2 separate regions of the Homo sapiens genome follow, and region 2 is linked to region 1. Evidence: promoter capture Hi-C in 16 types of primary human blood cells and fetal thymus (Javierre and others, 2016). All regions are on one chromosome and are shown on one strand. The core of a region is centred on a gene start or on the middle of the fragment in contact, and the rest is flanking DNA. Distances in the headings are between cores, read along the strand shown. Region 1 holds the start of SIK1 (salt inducible kinase 1). Region 2 overlaps LINC00322 (long intergenic non-protein coding RNA 322).

Evidence for each region. The method cuts DNA at HindIII sites, captures the fragments that hold promoters and counts their contacts. A CHiCAGO score of 5 or more calls a contact.
Region 2: a fragment that was not itself captured here is called in contact with the fragment with the promoter of SIK1 in region 1 in 2 of 17 cell types (naive B cells and total B cells); the score reaches 6.9 in naive B cells.

The regions. Positions count from the first base shown.
Region 1 is chr21:43,425,881-43,433,474 of GRCh38, reverse strand. SIK1 (salt inducible kinase 1) reads left to right here and starts at 6,344. Exons shown (of 14, transcript NM_173354.5): 1 at 6,344-6,465; 2 at 7,283-7,452. The coding sequence starts at 7,297. LOC124905029 (a long non-coding RNA gene) reads right to left here and starts at 3,891. Exons shown (of 3, transcript XR_007067891.1): 1 at 1-3,891. RefSeq lists a silencer at 2,452-2,746. The HindIII fragment of the contact is 3,848 bases long and covers 4,187-7,594 here.
Region 2 is chr21:43,318,335-43,325,421 of GRCh38, reverse strand. It overlaps LINC00322 (long intergenic non-protein coding RNA 322), which reads left to right. Exons shown (of 3, transcript NR_103713.2): 3 at 2,573-3,213. Among named protein-coding and RNA genes, the nearest start is that of LINC00322, 10 kb to the left of the region's middle. The HindIII fragment of the contact is 4,751 bases long and covers 1,130-5,880 here.

The sequences.
Region 1 (7,594 bases), core at 5,095-7,594:
ATGACGTCTGTACTTGCTCATGCCATACGCAGCCCATGTGTTTTCTTTTCAAACAAATAACAATACCACCCAAAACCACAACAGCCAGGTCAAAATGAATGACACCCATTGCAGGCCACACTGCAGGGGCTGGGGCTGTCCTTAGGGCCCTGTGTCCTGCTCGAAGTCAGGGGCTTCCACGGATTGACTTGGCAACCCAGGGACTTGGCTCCCTACTCTCTTGTTTTTACTTTTTTTCTTTCTTTTTTTTTTTTTTTGAGACGGAGTCTCGCTCTGTTGCCCAGGCTGGAGTGCAGTGGGCAATCTGGGTTCACTGCAACCTCTGCCTCCCGGGTTCACTCCATTCTCCTGCCTCAGCCTCCCGAGTAGCTAGGACCACAGGCGCCCGCCACCACGCCCGGCTAATTTTTTGTATTTTTAGTGGAGATGGGGTTTCACCGTATGAGCCAGGATGGTCTCGATCTCCTGACCTCGTGATCCTTGGCCTCCCAAAGTGCTGGGATTACAGGTGTGAGCCACCGCGCCCTTGGTTCCCGACTCTCTGTAGCTCCCAGACCCTGCATGGCAGCCACACCCGTGGGTCCCAGGAGGTGTGTGGGGCCCTCTGCTTAAAGATCCCTCTCAGTGGCTCTGCCTGTGGCCTCCAGAGACCCCTCCTCCTCAGGCGGTGCTGGCCCACGGGCACCAGGCCGGGCATCCAGTCTCGACTCCGGTGGCTCTCAGACAGCCAGGCTGTCTTAAAACAAGGCTCCTGAAATGTGGAGAAATGGCTCATCGAGTGCCAAATGTCGGCATAGGGCCGGGGACCACGAGAGGCTGGGGATGGATGAGCCAGGTCAGGTGGGGCCACAGTCTCATGCTGAGCTGTGGTGTCTGTTTCCACGGGGCCTTGAATGGCATGAAAAGGGCCCCCGATGCTGCCGCGCCCCCGATGCCGCCGCGCCCCCGATGCCGCCGCACGGAGCTGTCCAGTCGGGATGCTGAACATTGCCACAGTGGAATTCTAGGCAGACAACTTCAGCTTACGGTTCTGCTTGCCATTTGGTGACCTGGCAAGACACTTCCTAGATAAGGCTGGAAAAGGCAGGACGCCTCATCCTGTTTTAATAAAAAGTGAATAAGAAAACGTCAGCTATGAAGAGCATTTCCGGTGCTTTTTGTTTTCATCTTTACATACTTACTTTCTTGATTTTCTATGGAACCTTTTCTATTAATTTTTATACTTCGAAGAAACCTGCTTTATAAGAGAAGGCCCGGCAGTGGAGGGAGCATTTCATCGTTTTCCCATAGATGCAGCTGAGATGGAGGGAGACCCATCCGGAAGCCGTGGAGAGAGCGTCTCCTCAGCCCGCCCTGAGACGGGGGTCCTCCTCTCTCCCCCATGGTCCGGGCTTGGCTTCTCTGGGCTGTGAGATGCACAAGTGAAACGCTTCAATCTCCAAGGCCAGAGACCTTCCACCCACAGGCCTCACGCTCCTTCCTGCCACCCGCTTCCCATCGCAGCTCCTTGCTCCTCAGCTTGGCTCCAACAGCCCCAAGTCCCTGCCTCCCTTTCCCTGTCATCCTCGCCTGGCCGTGTCAGGCCGTGAAGCCGGGACAGACCACACTGCTCTGTGCACACCCCGGGCAGGCAGGCGCTGGGCAGCAGGTTGCAGATGGATGTGGACGGCGCCAAGGACCCCCACTGGGTCTGTCTTCCCAATCGTGGCCTCTGCTCTTCTTCCCCTCTGCTGAGAGCCTCTGCTCAGCATTCAGAGAGGGAAGGTGTGGGTGGCTGCCTCCTGCCCCATGCCCCCCGCCGGGGCTCCACCTCTTCTCTCTCCTGGAGCAGTTGGTGTTCTCAGGGAAGGTCCTCGCTCAGTCCACGCCTGGCAAATCCCACGGAGAGGCCCGGAAGCAGTTCCCTCCATGGCCACTTTCCTGCCAGCATTCTTTTCTTACTCATCATCTTATGCTGTTACTGTCTCCGCAACTGGAACCAACGGTCCTCGAGAGAAGGTGTCTTGTGTCCCTCCTACTGTGCCCACAACCTTCACGCAGTGCCTGACACACAGCAGGGCCTCTCGAGCCTTTGTGGACATCTGGAGGATGACTCCGAACTCACCCTCGCGTTGCACCGTCTCACCTCTCTCTGGGGACCTGTCCCTTCCCACAGTGAACTTCGAAGCATGTCTGTCTGTCACCATGTTCTGGCACAGTCTGGCCATGCTCACCTGTGTCCACCCGCTGACTCATTGCAGCTGGCACACTTGTTGCAAATGGCAGAAACTCACATTATTTTGCATAAGTAAATAGTAACCAAAAAAAAAAAAGATGGTTTACCATGCTCTACACTAGCAGCCAGCATGTCACCTGGAAACACCGAGACCTGAGCTGACACTCAGACGTCTCCATCTCCCGGGAGCCACGCTCCGTGTGGCCCTGGCAGAGTGCCCAGGATAAAGAGCACGGCCAGCACCTGCTCCAGTCCTGGTCCCCAGTGTCTGCACAAAGCTGCAGCATCCCAGAGGCTTCTGCTCTGCCTCTGGGGACCTTTGCTCCGTTTGCGGATGCGGTTTCCTTCTTCCTACAGAGAGGCAGGTGGTTTACTCCAGCGCTGCCTGCTCAGCACAGGGTGACCTCCTGCCAGGCTGTCCATGGTGCTCTTCCTAAGTGAGCACTCCCCCCCGGGGGAACCCCTGGCTCTGTTTGGGGCCTGGCTGACTCTCGCTGGGGCTGGCCCCTTCCTGCACCCCCCTCCCCCGCCGTCCGACCTCAGCATATGGCTCAGGGACACAGACACCCAAAGGCCTCTTGGGTCCTCAGCCTTGATATCGGCCACAGCCCTGCTTAAATGTCAAGAAAACGCATTGGCCACATGAATAATTCCTCACTAACGGCAGCGACAGAAACCGGAACCAGAAACCCTAGAGGGCTGGAGCGGGGAGGGCCGACTGGCCCGTGAACAGGCACGTTTCTGCTGCTTTGCCGGCCTTCGTGGTCCATTTAAGCAGCCCGTGGAAGGCCTAGCCTGAAAGTGGGTGCTGTCTGAGATGGGGAGGGGCCCTGGGCCCGGTAGGATCCACACAACTGTGGCAGCCACGGAACCACAGGGAGCCAAGTGTAGGAGGTGAAGGAAGCAATGCCCTGGGGGCGGACGCTGGGACTGGGCAGTCTCTGGTTTGACCTGTTCGCGGGGGATTCTTGACTTAACCTGTGGACAACTGGGCCATTCCCTGAGGGTGGAGGGGGCTGGGGGCTTTTCTCCTACCTGCCCTCTTCCCAGGCCAGGGCCGTGGCTTCCTGACCTAGTGCACACATGTCTGTCTGTCAAGCTCTCCAGATACAATGGGGCAAAATGACCAACGTGGCCCCCGGGTCCCTGAGAAGGATGCCGCTGCAGTGGTTAATCTGATTTTCTGGCACCTAAAGCCGCTAGGCTGAAGCCTAAACAAACCAAAACAAAATTTAAAAAGTACAAAACCACCTGAAGCAAAGCCAGGAAGACAGGGAAGGGCCTTAGGCGTCGAAGATGGGAGGGTAGGGTCGGGAAGAGGAACTCGTCTGACTCCTGGCTGCACTGGGAGATTCCTTCCTCACAGAGGGCGGCACTGGGGCCAGCTGGGCACCCATCCCTTTGCAAAAATGCTGCCCCACGCTCCATTCTCTGTGTTTATCAATTGATTTTGAGAGTTTTGTGACATGCCAGTGGCCAGCGTTACAACTATGAATAATAAATGGACCCATTTCCTGTTGGGGTTTCCAGTCTTAAGGCCTAAAAAACAAGATGAACTCCAGAAACACGGCAATCATAAGACAAGCTGAAGAAAGTCCATGTGGAAAGGAAAACTGACTTGCCGTTTTCCACAAATCTGTAATAATATGCAAACCATAATAATAAAGTACCGTTCCTGCAGACTTTGGGAGCATTCCTTCCATTATGTTCAGTGAGGAGCTTCTCCAATCATTTGCTTGTACCATCCTTACACTCACACCATGTGTTTTATTTTTCCTCGTGTTAAAGGCACGGAAGACCAGAAAACAGAAAAGAAATCAAAGCTTCTGAGAGGAAATACAGCCTCGGGGGGTCAAGGACACAAACAACAACAAAAGACATTGGGTAACAGAGACCAGGTTGAAGCACAGACTTAGTTATGAGGGTGCCAGGGGTTCCCCCAGTGGGGAGACGGGACAGCCGTTCCAAGCTTGGCCTTTTCCTCTGTGCTTCCTGCCTTTCTCTGCAGAGCGAGCTCCTTGCCCACGGGCCCAGGGAAGGGAAAACAGGATGGCCATGGTTGGCACAGGGCTGTTCTGGGTTTTGGAAGCTCAGGGCTGGGTCAGGGTGAAAGGTCAAGTGCACCTGAGTTTGGGGACCTGTTCTGCGGAGGCAGTTTTGGCTGCAGTTTTTATTTGGTGCTGATGCAATGTTTCCAAACAGCCAGCCAGGTGTTTGCAAATACCTAAGACCTTTTGGAAGACTCTGGCTAGGGTGGGAGGGGTGGGGAAGCCTGCTTCCTGGATGCGGGGGGCAGTATTTCAAGTCACAGGCTGAGGGACTGAATGGTGAGTGTGATCAGGGGCCTGGTTTCTCCCCCACCCCGCCTTTTATCTTTGTTCTTTTTTGAGACAGGGCCTTGTTCTCTTGCTCAGGCTGGAGTGCAGTGGTGCAATGACAGCTCACTGCAGCCTCAACCTCCCAGGCTCACGCCATCCTCCCACCTCAGGCTCCCAAGTAGCCGGCCCCACAGGCGTGTGCCACCACACCTGGCTATTTTAAAAGTATTTTATAGAGGTGAGGTCTTGCTATGTTAACCAAGCCGGTCTCAAACTCCTGAGCTCAACTGATCCTCCTGCCTCAGCCTCCCAAAGCACTGGGATTACAGGCGGGAGACACGACGTCCAGCCTTGTTTTTGTTTAGTTCTCCTAGGAGCGGATTAACAGGGTGTTGGGACCTCCAAAAGGAAAAAAGGCAGTTGTACACTGTTCAGCTGAAAGGAACTAAAAATATTCCCCCGTATTCTTGGTATATAAACCTGGGACAAAGAAAAACACTCTGAACGATTAAGGAAAACTTTGGGACTCTTCATTTCCTTGAAAGCCTTTGAAAACCAACTGACTCCCAAACAACCCGTGTGTGTGTGTGTGTGTGTGTGTGTGTGTGTGTGTGTGTGGCGATTGGGAAATCTGTGGTCAGACCCTCGGGCGAATGAGGAGAAGCTCATCCTCGTTTCTCCGGGCCCTCCTCCCAGGCGTCCGTCCAGGCAGGAAAGCCTCCCGAGAAGGGTTCCAAGTTTTGTGCCAACTCCCCTGAATTCTCGTTCCCCCTTCTGTGAAGTAGTGTTATTTAACACAAGGAAAACTGACCCTAGGCTCGATCCAGAATCTAACTCCCAAATGGGTCCTCAGGCTTAAAAAATACCTTCGCCCACAGCCTCTGTCTCCCCTGAAGAAAACGTTTTCCGTTCGGATGAGGCATCGGCCACGGGCAAGCAAGTGGTCCCGCGCCCCCGTCCCCTACCCAGGCGGCCGGCCTGGCTCCGTCACCGCCCGCAGCGTCCGCCCGGGGCCCGCGCGGGAAGAGGGTCCCAGCCCCACATGCTGCGGGGGCAGCCCCGGGACGCGCAGACGCCAGCGCCGCTGAGGGCCGGGGCCGGGACCGGCCGCGCGGCGGGGGCTTCCAGAGCGGCCGGTCACGCTTCCTTAGGTTTCAAGTTTCTAACTTGCTGAACATTTCAGATTTTAACAGCAAAAGCGGCTGACGTCCCCGCGGGCAAGCGGCCTCTCGGGGTCTGCAGCGCCCCAGGGCATCCGCGCCGCCAGCCCCACGCGCGAGCCCGCGAGGCCCCCGGGCCCCCGCACGTCCCGAGGCTCTGAGTCTGGACGAACGCAGGCCGCGTGGAGGGGCCGGCGACCCCTGCCCGAGAGCCGTCCCCTCCTGGAGGGAGCGAGCACAAGGCGCCCGCGGGACCCGGCCCGAGTGCCCGAGCGTGGAGGGGCGGGCGCGCCCTCGGCGGTGGGGCCGCCCGCAGTGCCCCCAGCGCCCGGGAGGGGGCGCCCGGCGGAGCGCAGGCGGGCGGGCCTCGGGCGGCGGGCGCCCCTGACGTCACCGGCCCGCGGTCGCCAGGGCAACGGCCTCATCCCGCGCGCGTCAGAGCCGCCAGTCTCTTGGCAACCGCCCGATCTCCCGCTCTCCCTCCGCCCGGCGCTCGGCCGCGCGTCGCTCTGGCGTCAAAGCGACGTCAATGGGCGGCCCCCGCCCGGGCGGCGGGGGCGGGGCAGGGGGCGGGGACTACGGGGGGCGGGCCGGGGCGGGCCGGGGCGGGGCCGGGCGCCGCGTGCGGCGGAGCGCGGCGGCTCCGGGCTGACATGCGGCGCGGCCCCGGAGGCAGCAGCAGCGGCGGCGGCAGCCGGAGCAGTAGGCACCCGAGCAGCGCCAGCGGCCGAGCGGGCGGCTTCCTGGCCTGGGCGCTCCGGTGGCGGCGGAGGTGAGGCGGCGGCAGCGGCGGCAGCGGCGGCAGCGGCGGGCTCCGGGCGGGCGGAGGTGGCCGCCGTGGGGGCTCCGCGCGGGCGCCGGGCCGGGGCTCGGGGTTGCAGCCACCGCGCAGGGTCCCTGGCCTTGCGCGCGCGGGGTTCGCGGGCGGGGTTGGCGGCCTGGCCGCCCTCGGGCTCCCCTTTGTTGGGGGGCCGGGGTAGGAGTGAGTCCGCGGGGCTCAGGGGCTGGGGAGCCGGGGGTCAGGTTGGAGCCGACCGCGGGCGGAGATACCGGGTGTGGGGGGCGGGTCCGCGATCCCCGAGGTGCCTGGGATGTCGGGGGTGGGGACCGGACGGATCGCGGGCGGCGGGGGCAGGGTGTGGGAGCGGGGCAGGGGACGGTCCTGGGATCCGGATCGAGCCGACCTCGGGTGGCAGGGCCAGGTGTGGGAGCGGGTCCGCGCCCAGAGGTGCTAAAGGGGTCGAGGGTGGGGACGGAACCGACAGCGGGCGGCGGGAGGCGAGTGTGGAATCCCGGCTCAGGGGGTCCCGGGATCGGGACGGAACCGGACTCGGGCGGCAGGGGCCTCTATGAGAGCGGGTCCGTGCGCCCCGCGGGGCTCAAGAGGGTCGGGGGTCCGGGTGGAGCGGGCGGCGGGGGCGGGTCCACACCTCCCACGGGGCTGGAGGGGCCCGTGGATAGAGTGGGGGCGACAGGCGTGGGAGCAGGTCCCTGCGTCCCGTGGGGACTGGGGGCTCCGCGGGCACGGATGGAGCCGACCGCGGGCGGCGGGGGCGCTGGTGGGCTCTGAGCTCTGTGCGGCCCCGCAGGTGCGCGCGGAGCCATGGTTATCATGTCGGAGTTCAGCGCGGACCCCGCGGGCCAGGGTCAGGGCCAGCAGAAGCCCCTCCGGGTGGGTTTTTACGACATCGAGCGGACCCTGGGCAAAGGCAACTTCGCGGTGGTGAAGCTGGCGCGGCATCGAGTCACCAAAACGCAGGTGCGTGGGGGCGGTGGGACCCAGCCGGCGGGGCCTCCCCACTGGACCCGGGGCGACCCGACCTTTGGCGGGTGGACCCCATGCAGATTCACTGCTCCAGGCTTGATTGTCGTGGTGGGTAAATAGTAACCGTTTTTAGTTC
Region 2 (7,087 bases), core at 2,256-4,755, 110 kb after region 1:
GCAAAAGTAGCATTTGAAGCCAGGGATGTGCAGACGGAGGCCAGCGCCCAGGAGACTGGCCTGCACGTGGTGGCCTCAGCTTCCAGAAGGTCCTGTGGGCACAGGGCTCTTGGCTGACTCAGAGCTGGTGGACGCAGAGGTTAGCTCCCTGCCATGCACAGCCAGGCCCTGACCCAACTTTGGTCCCTGGGGACAAGAGGGGCTGGGAGAGCCCTGCCCACCCAGGGGGCAGGCAGTCACCCCAGCGTGGAGGCTGGTTCTGCCCTTGGGAGGTGGTTCCTTTGGCTGGACCAGAATGTCTGCAGATGATCAGGAGAGGGCCAAGGGTTGGGGGGTGCCCCATGTGCACCCTGAGAATTGCACCAGGCACAGAGAGCAACTTCAGCCCTCCTTGTGCAGAGCTGCAGCGTACAGTGCCAGCCCTCGCTGGCCCTCACACACACAGGATGCCCCAAACATGGCTTGAGGCCTTGCAAAACATTAGGAACCGGGATGTCTGAACCCTGTTGGCTTCCGCGGTGTCAGAGCCTCACCCCAACCAGAAGGCGCATCGGGGACGTGGTCATGCGGTGTCTCCCTGACCTGAGAGTGACTCGGGAGGCTGCAGTCAGACCCCGGCGGCCCGGCCTGCGGGGTGACAGTGCTCAGAGAGGGACCCTTCAGCTCCTCCCTGCCAGGGTGGGGGGGGCTCTCTTCTCTGGGAGCAGGAGGCCTGGGGGGCAGGGGTGGGGTCCCAGCAGCCTCTCCCCCAGCGGCATGGTGTATGGCTGCGGAAGCCCTGGGTCTGTTTCCTTGTCTGTGACATGGGGCTGATGGCAGTGCTTCCCCTGCTCAGGGAAGACAGAGGCACAGATGGGGAGAGGCGGCCAACAAGCCCAAGAGCACCAGAGCCACCAGGAGCTGCAGGAGGCAGGAGGGACACCCCTCAGCCTTCAGGGAGGGTGTGCCTCGATCTTGCTCTTCTGGTGTCCAGAGCTGGGAGAGAATACCTTTCTGTTGTTTTAAGCCACTCGTTCTGGGGCACTTTGCTAGGGAAGCCCAGGAAACTCGGTGAGCACGGAGCTGGAGCTGCTTGAATGACTCACAAGCAAGTACAAGAGGAGAGGACCCCAGGCATTCGGGGGAAGCTTTGAAAGACCCGCCTGCTCCCTCAGCAGGCAAAAGAGGTCTTAGGGAGGGGCTGAGGGGTGTCGGAACCAAGCTCGTGAACCTGGGGCTGAAACCGCAAGGCCCCAGCAAAGCCAGAGCCTGGGATGGGGAGCTGAGGGTGCAATCAGCTTGTCCCTGGGAAGGTGATGTAGGGATTCCCAGCCTCGCAACACATCCATCATCTGGGAGTTACCTAAACTATGTGGAAATGCAGATCTCCAGGCTCCCACAAGAGGTTTTGGGGCAGAGCCCAAATGGGTGCATTTAGCAGCTCCCGCCTTACTCGGATGCGGGGCAGACCCACTGCCCCTCCCAGTAGGTCAGCACGTCTGGGGTCACTGGGCCAGCACAATGCTCCCTTTTTCCCTGTGGCAAAGTGAATGTGGAGGCTGAGGCGGGTGCATGGCTGGCATCCACTGAGTGCCACCCTCCCAGCACAAGGTGGCGGATGCACAGCAGGTGGCCTGGCTCTGCCATGCAGGCACCTGGGGACATGGGCAGGCTGCAGCCGGGACCCGGGCACCTCGCAGGGACAGGCTGGGGACGCCTCCTCCACTCTCCCCAGCCCGTCCTCATAAAGCACCTGTGGGGCTCCTCCTAAGCCCAGGGAGACCCAGGCCCACATGGGCAGCATGTGGCTGGTGTGTCACTGCAGCCAGGAAAATAACCTGGGAAATGACTGAAAATGCAGCCAGGCTGCACTCCTGTGTGCCCGGCCACTTCTCAGAAGGAGGGAGGAGGTTCATCTCAGGCCGGCTCCCACGGGCAGCTGGAAGCCACCCAGTTCCACTGCTGACCTGCTGCCTGAATGACCGACATGTGGCCGTTCGGCTGCCAAGCTGGCTGGCTTCAAGTGCAAAGCTGGCTGAACAAAGCAGGCCATTACGAAGCAATACAGAAGGCATTTTCCCGCAAACAGGGCCAGCGGGCTGGCGCCGAAGGAGGCTGGCCATGTGCTTCAGGCAGCACATTCACTCTCAAGGTCCTGCTTAGTAGGCTGCAGCCCGGGATAGCATGTCTAAGACCTCCATGGCAGGGAGCAGATAGGGCTGAGTCAGGGTGGCTGAGGGGTCACGGTCTGGAGAGAACATAGACGCTCTGTACTGCCTTTGGGGCTCCACTCTCCTTGGCAGAAGGCTCCAAGAGCCCTTCCCACGCACAGGTCTCTCCCCTTTCCTCCACTAGCCCATCGCCAGCCATGCATTCATTCACTCGCTCATCAAACCTACAATGAGCATGTACTATGTGCCAGGCACTGTCCAAGGTGCTGGGGACACAGCTGAGAACCAGACACACTCCTGTCCCTCACTGGGACTCCTCTACCCCAGCCACATCTCCAGGGCTCCCCACAGCCTGCACCCACCACTTCGCTCCCTCCCCTCCCCGCCTCCCTGGCAGTCAGACTCGTACTTCTGTCCCACAGCTTTCCCAGCCTCCTGGCTGCCTCCCCATTTCCTCCCACACTGGTGATCCCCCGATGAAATCCTCCTGCCCTTCATCCTGTCTTGGCGTCTGCCTCGCGATGACCCTGGGCTCACAGTCTGGCCACTGCAGCTGAGTGTCGCACTGGCTCAGGTGTGGCAACACGGGGGTTGAAAGGCTCTGAACCAGGCACCAGGAGCCCTGCGCCCCAGGCCAGCCCTCCGCAAACCAGCTTTGTGTCCTCGGACAACTCCAGGCCCATCCTGGGTCTTGCTGTCTGGAGAGAGGAGGAAGCCGGCCACACTCTCCAAGAACATTCAGCCTCCGCACTGCATGGCCTCTGCTTGGTTTCTGGCTGGGCCCAGGGCTCTGCTTGCAGTGTGGAGCCGCAGTGGTGGGTCCCCATGCGAGCCCCCGCCACTGTCTGCTGTCATCACCGGCCCAGATGCCCTTGCCACACAGCACCATTTCCAACTGCGAAGGCCTCCGTGTGGCGCCTGTCGGGACAACACGGCCGGCACAGGCTGGGCTGGGGGAGAAAGGGTGCTGGGCAGCTCTGTGCCCTGCGACTTTGTGGGTCTGCTGGGCTGTCCTTGTCTTGAAAACATTGTATTTTTGACTCCTATAAAGTAGTGGAGATAAGATTGGCTCTGAAATGTATTATGATCCCTTGAGTAGAGCCAGGGGGCAGAGCCACCTCCCTGGTGGTTTCCATGGGCATCAATAAGAAACGCTGCCATTTAGTGGGGAAAACAAGGTATGTGGATAGGCTCATAGCCCATGGTTCGAAGCCCATGCCCCTCTCAAGAGGGAGCAGACCAGGGAGGGTGGCAGGAGCATCCAGCGAGGGTTAGGGTGCCCCACCGGCCTGAGCTCCTGCCTTGGAAGCACCCTGAAGACAGATCGTGGGGCCCTGTGGAGCTGGCCTGGGGTTGCCACCAAGGACTCGTTTTGAAAACGTCTCCAATCAAACAGCAAAGTTTTGGGGGTCCCTGAGCCTCAGCCAGGGTCAGTTGCCCGAGTCACACCTGCTGAGGCAAGCGTGCAGGTGCAGGCCCCACCCACAGGCACCCCCTTTTTGCCCACCCAGCTCCATCTCCCACCCCAAGGGGCGTTGCCCAGCAAGCGCCTCCCAGGGGGCACATCTGAGCTCCACCCAAGGCCCCCCCTTGGGCCCCAGAAGAGGAGGGCAGACCCAGAAGGGCCCCCAAAGAGAGGCCAGATGTGGTCAGGGGAGGGTCGGGAAGGAGGGACAGGCCTCCCACTGGGTGTTCCCCTGGCCTCATGGGCCCGAATCCTCTGAAGCCTCAAACCACACTGGAGCCACATGGCCAGTTCCAAGGGCAGTGCCTGGGATGGCTCTTGGGATGGCTCTCAGGACGGTGAGGCCTGGTGGCCTCCATCCTCTATGTGGAGAAACAGCTGAGAAGGACGCTCCTCTCTCAAGGCAGTGAAGGGGAGGAGGGGAGGTGCTGGGCAATCTGTTTCACCCGGCCTGGGCCCCAGGCTTGGGGGCCCTCAGTGACTCACTATGAAGGCATCAGAAGGGCCCCTGGGAGGGATTTGTGAATATGTCCCCAGGCCTTGGAGGAGAAAACACAAGGGTACCCTGAAGCCAACTCCTGGCCTCCACCAAGAAAAATGAGCTCAGAGAGCACAGCCAGCACAGTGCCAGGGCAGGGGCCAAAGGCCGGCTCAGCCTCTGGGAGGAAGGAGCTCAGGCGGTGGCCTCAGCTGAGACTGGGTGCTGGAAGCTCCAGGACCCAGGGGACCCCATCCTCAACAGAGGGGTCTCCAGAGTCAGAAACGCTAGGCAGCCTCTGCCACTCAGAGTGGCCTAGGGTTGCCAGGGCTGTGGAAGCGCTGACCCTGAGGGGTTCACGGGGACAGTGAGAACAGGGAATTGTCATGTGACCCAGGGCTGGGTGGAGGAAGTGCCTCTACCTGGCCATGGTGGCACAGGAGCCATTGGCGTGGGCAGAAACCCAGGGTGGGTAGTGGGCTGGGGTGCCTGGGCTCTCTTGGGGCCAGATGACCAGCTCACAACTGAAACTGATGGTGAAGCATTTCATCAGCCGGGGTGTATGAGTCAGCTCAGCCTACGTAACAAAGCACCACACTGGGGGGCTTGAACCTCAGAAATCCCTGACCTCACGGCCCTGGAGGCCAGAAGTCTGCAATGCAGGTGTGGTCAGGGCTGGCTCCTCCTGGGGCTGTGAGGGAGCCTCTGGTCCCCATCTCTGCCAGCTTCTGGCAGCCTGAGATGTTCCTGGAGATGGCCGTCTTCTCCCTGTATCTTCAGTTTGTCCTCCCTGGACATGCCCCTCTGTGTCAGAATCGCCCCTTTTGGTAAAGACGCCAGTCTTGTTGGGTCCAACCTGTGACCTCATCTTAACCTGATCTGCCAGGACTCTGTTTCCAGTGAAGGTCCCACTCACAGGTACTGGGGGTTGGACTTCAGCATCTTTTGTGGGGAATACCATTCAAACCATCACCTGGGGGAGGGGAAGCTGCAGGCCCCTGTGGGCAGGGAGAGTTAACCTTGCACCTGCAGGATGGGCCCCACCCTCCCAGCCTTGGCCTCCCCATGGCCATGTACAAGCATAAACTTGCATCTGGTTTTACGAGCTGGAAATTTAACATAGAATCCTTTCTGCCATTTCACTCTCTACATTAGGACCTGAAAGGACAAGAGCACTTTTTTTTTTCTGTTTTACACTGAGCTGATTCAAGTGGACACATTGCTGGGGTCAGCAGCAGCAGTGAAGTCCTTTCCCCAGCCTTGAGAACACACATGACTTTACATCCAGCCCAGCAGCCCCCACAAACCCCCAGGAACAGCCCAGGGAACCCTGTCCTTGGTTTCCTCTGGGGCAGAGTTTTCTGGAACCACACTGAGAAGACACTGAAAGCATTAGAGAGGCTTGTGCTCCCCGGATGTATTTTATTGTTTTAATATATAAATTGATTCCTTTAAAAAACAAGCCACAAATCTCATGGCGGGCCCTTTTACGTGCATGAGCTCTAATTACTTGATTTTTTGGAAGCGCCTGAAAAAATTATATTTCTAATTCCTCTAGGCCTGTCATGAAAGAGCCTTTTATAACTGCCGGGCTGTCCCTCCTGGGAATCAGACGCTGCGGTGCAGAGGAGGATGACGACAGGAACCGCTCTTCTCAGAAAAGGGCCTTGCAGCCCTGAGCGTTTCCAGCTCAAACAGAATGGATGCGTCCGCTAATGATGTCTGTCGCTATTTGCATCGTGGATGCATTTCCAGGGTTCGCAGGCCCTGGAGAAGGAGGAAAAGCTTCCCACCCTGTCATGCTCAGGATCATGTCGTCATCGTCCACAGCTGAGTCACATCGCCCGGAGCAGATGTGACTGGCCCCCACCCCCTCTGTGTGTACAGAGAGATGCTCTCAGAGGGTCGGGAAGCCAGAGCCTCTGAGCCCAGCTTGGAGCATGGCAAGCCACGCTGGCTGGAAACCCCTGGACACAGAGACTTGCTGAGGGTCCTGTCACCCTTCTCCCCATTCCTGTAACCTCCCGAGGCCGGGCATCTGTCCTTTATGGAATGGGCCTTTGCCAAGCGCTGAACTTGACTCTAGAATGTCACTGAGCGTGTCTGGCTGCGGGGAAACGCGCTCCCTCCCCCTGGGGTTTGTTAGAAAGAGTTCTGAAGCCTTGCAGAGGGTGTGGGTGGAAAGTCCTTCTGGTGGGGAAGCCAGGTGCAGAAAGCCTAAGCTGAGAGCGCTCAGGGGAGGCACCCAGCATCGGGTGCACGGTGGGTTACCTGGAGGTCAGGCAGCCACTGCTGGCGCTGCTTCCCCATCCCATGGTTTGGCTCGGTACAGCCCATCTTCAGCTTAGCCAGCGCATGCCCAGCTAACCCCCCTGGGACTTGCCCGGTGTCAGCCTAGACCCTATAGGAGCAAGAAGAAGAAAAGTCGTGACTCATGCACTTGGGGAGCTTATGGTGTGGGCTTTGCAGGGATGGACTCTGAGCAGCCAATGATCAAACAGGAGGGCAGTTTACATGTCAGTGTTTTACCCAGAGTCCTTGGGGCAATAAGGGCAGTGGGCAAAATTCTGCTAACTACCCCCAGCCCTTCCATCCTTCTTCCTGAATAACAAGAACCCCAGCTTTTCACTGGACACACTGCATTCAGATAAGAGACTGCATTCCTCACACTACATCAGGACTAAGTGAGGCATAGTCTATTGGCTGGAATGCAGAGGTGATGACAGGTACTCAGGCAGCCACGTTGGACCATGAGACGGCAGGATCGATATGAAGGACTGTGAAGAGGCATGAAGCAACGAAGGGACATGGGGAAAGTCTGAATCCCTACTCTTATCGGAGCACGTCATAATATGAACTCCTTAATTTTAGCTGGATACAATTCCCATTCCCCCTCGCAGCCAGCTGTGACCATGTGCCTAAATTTTGGTGCCCAAATTTTAAGCAGAAGTGTTGTGTGCAACCTCCGGAAAGCATCCTTAACAGGCAGGACCA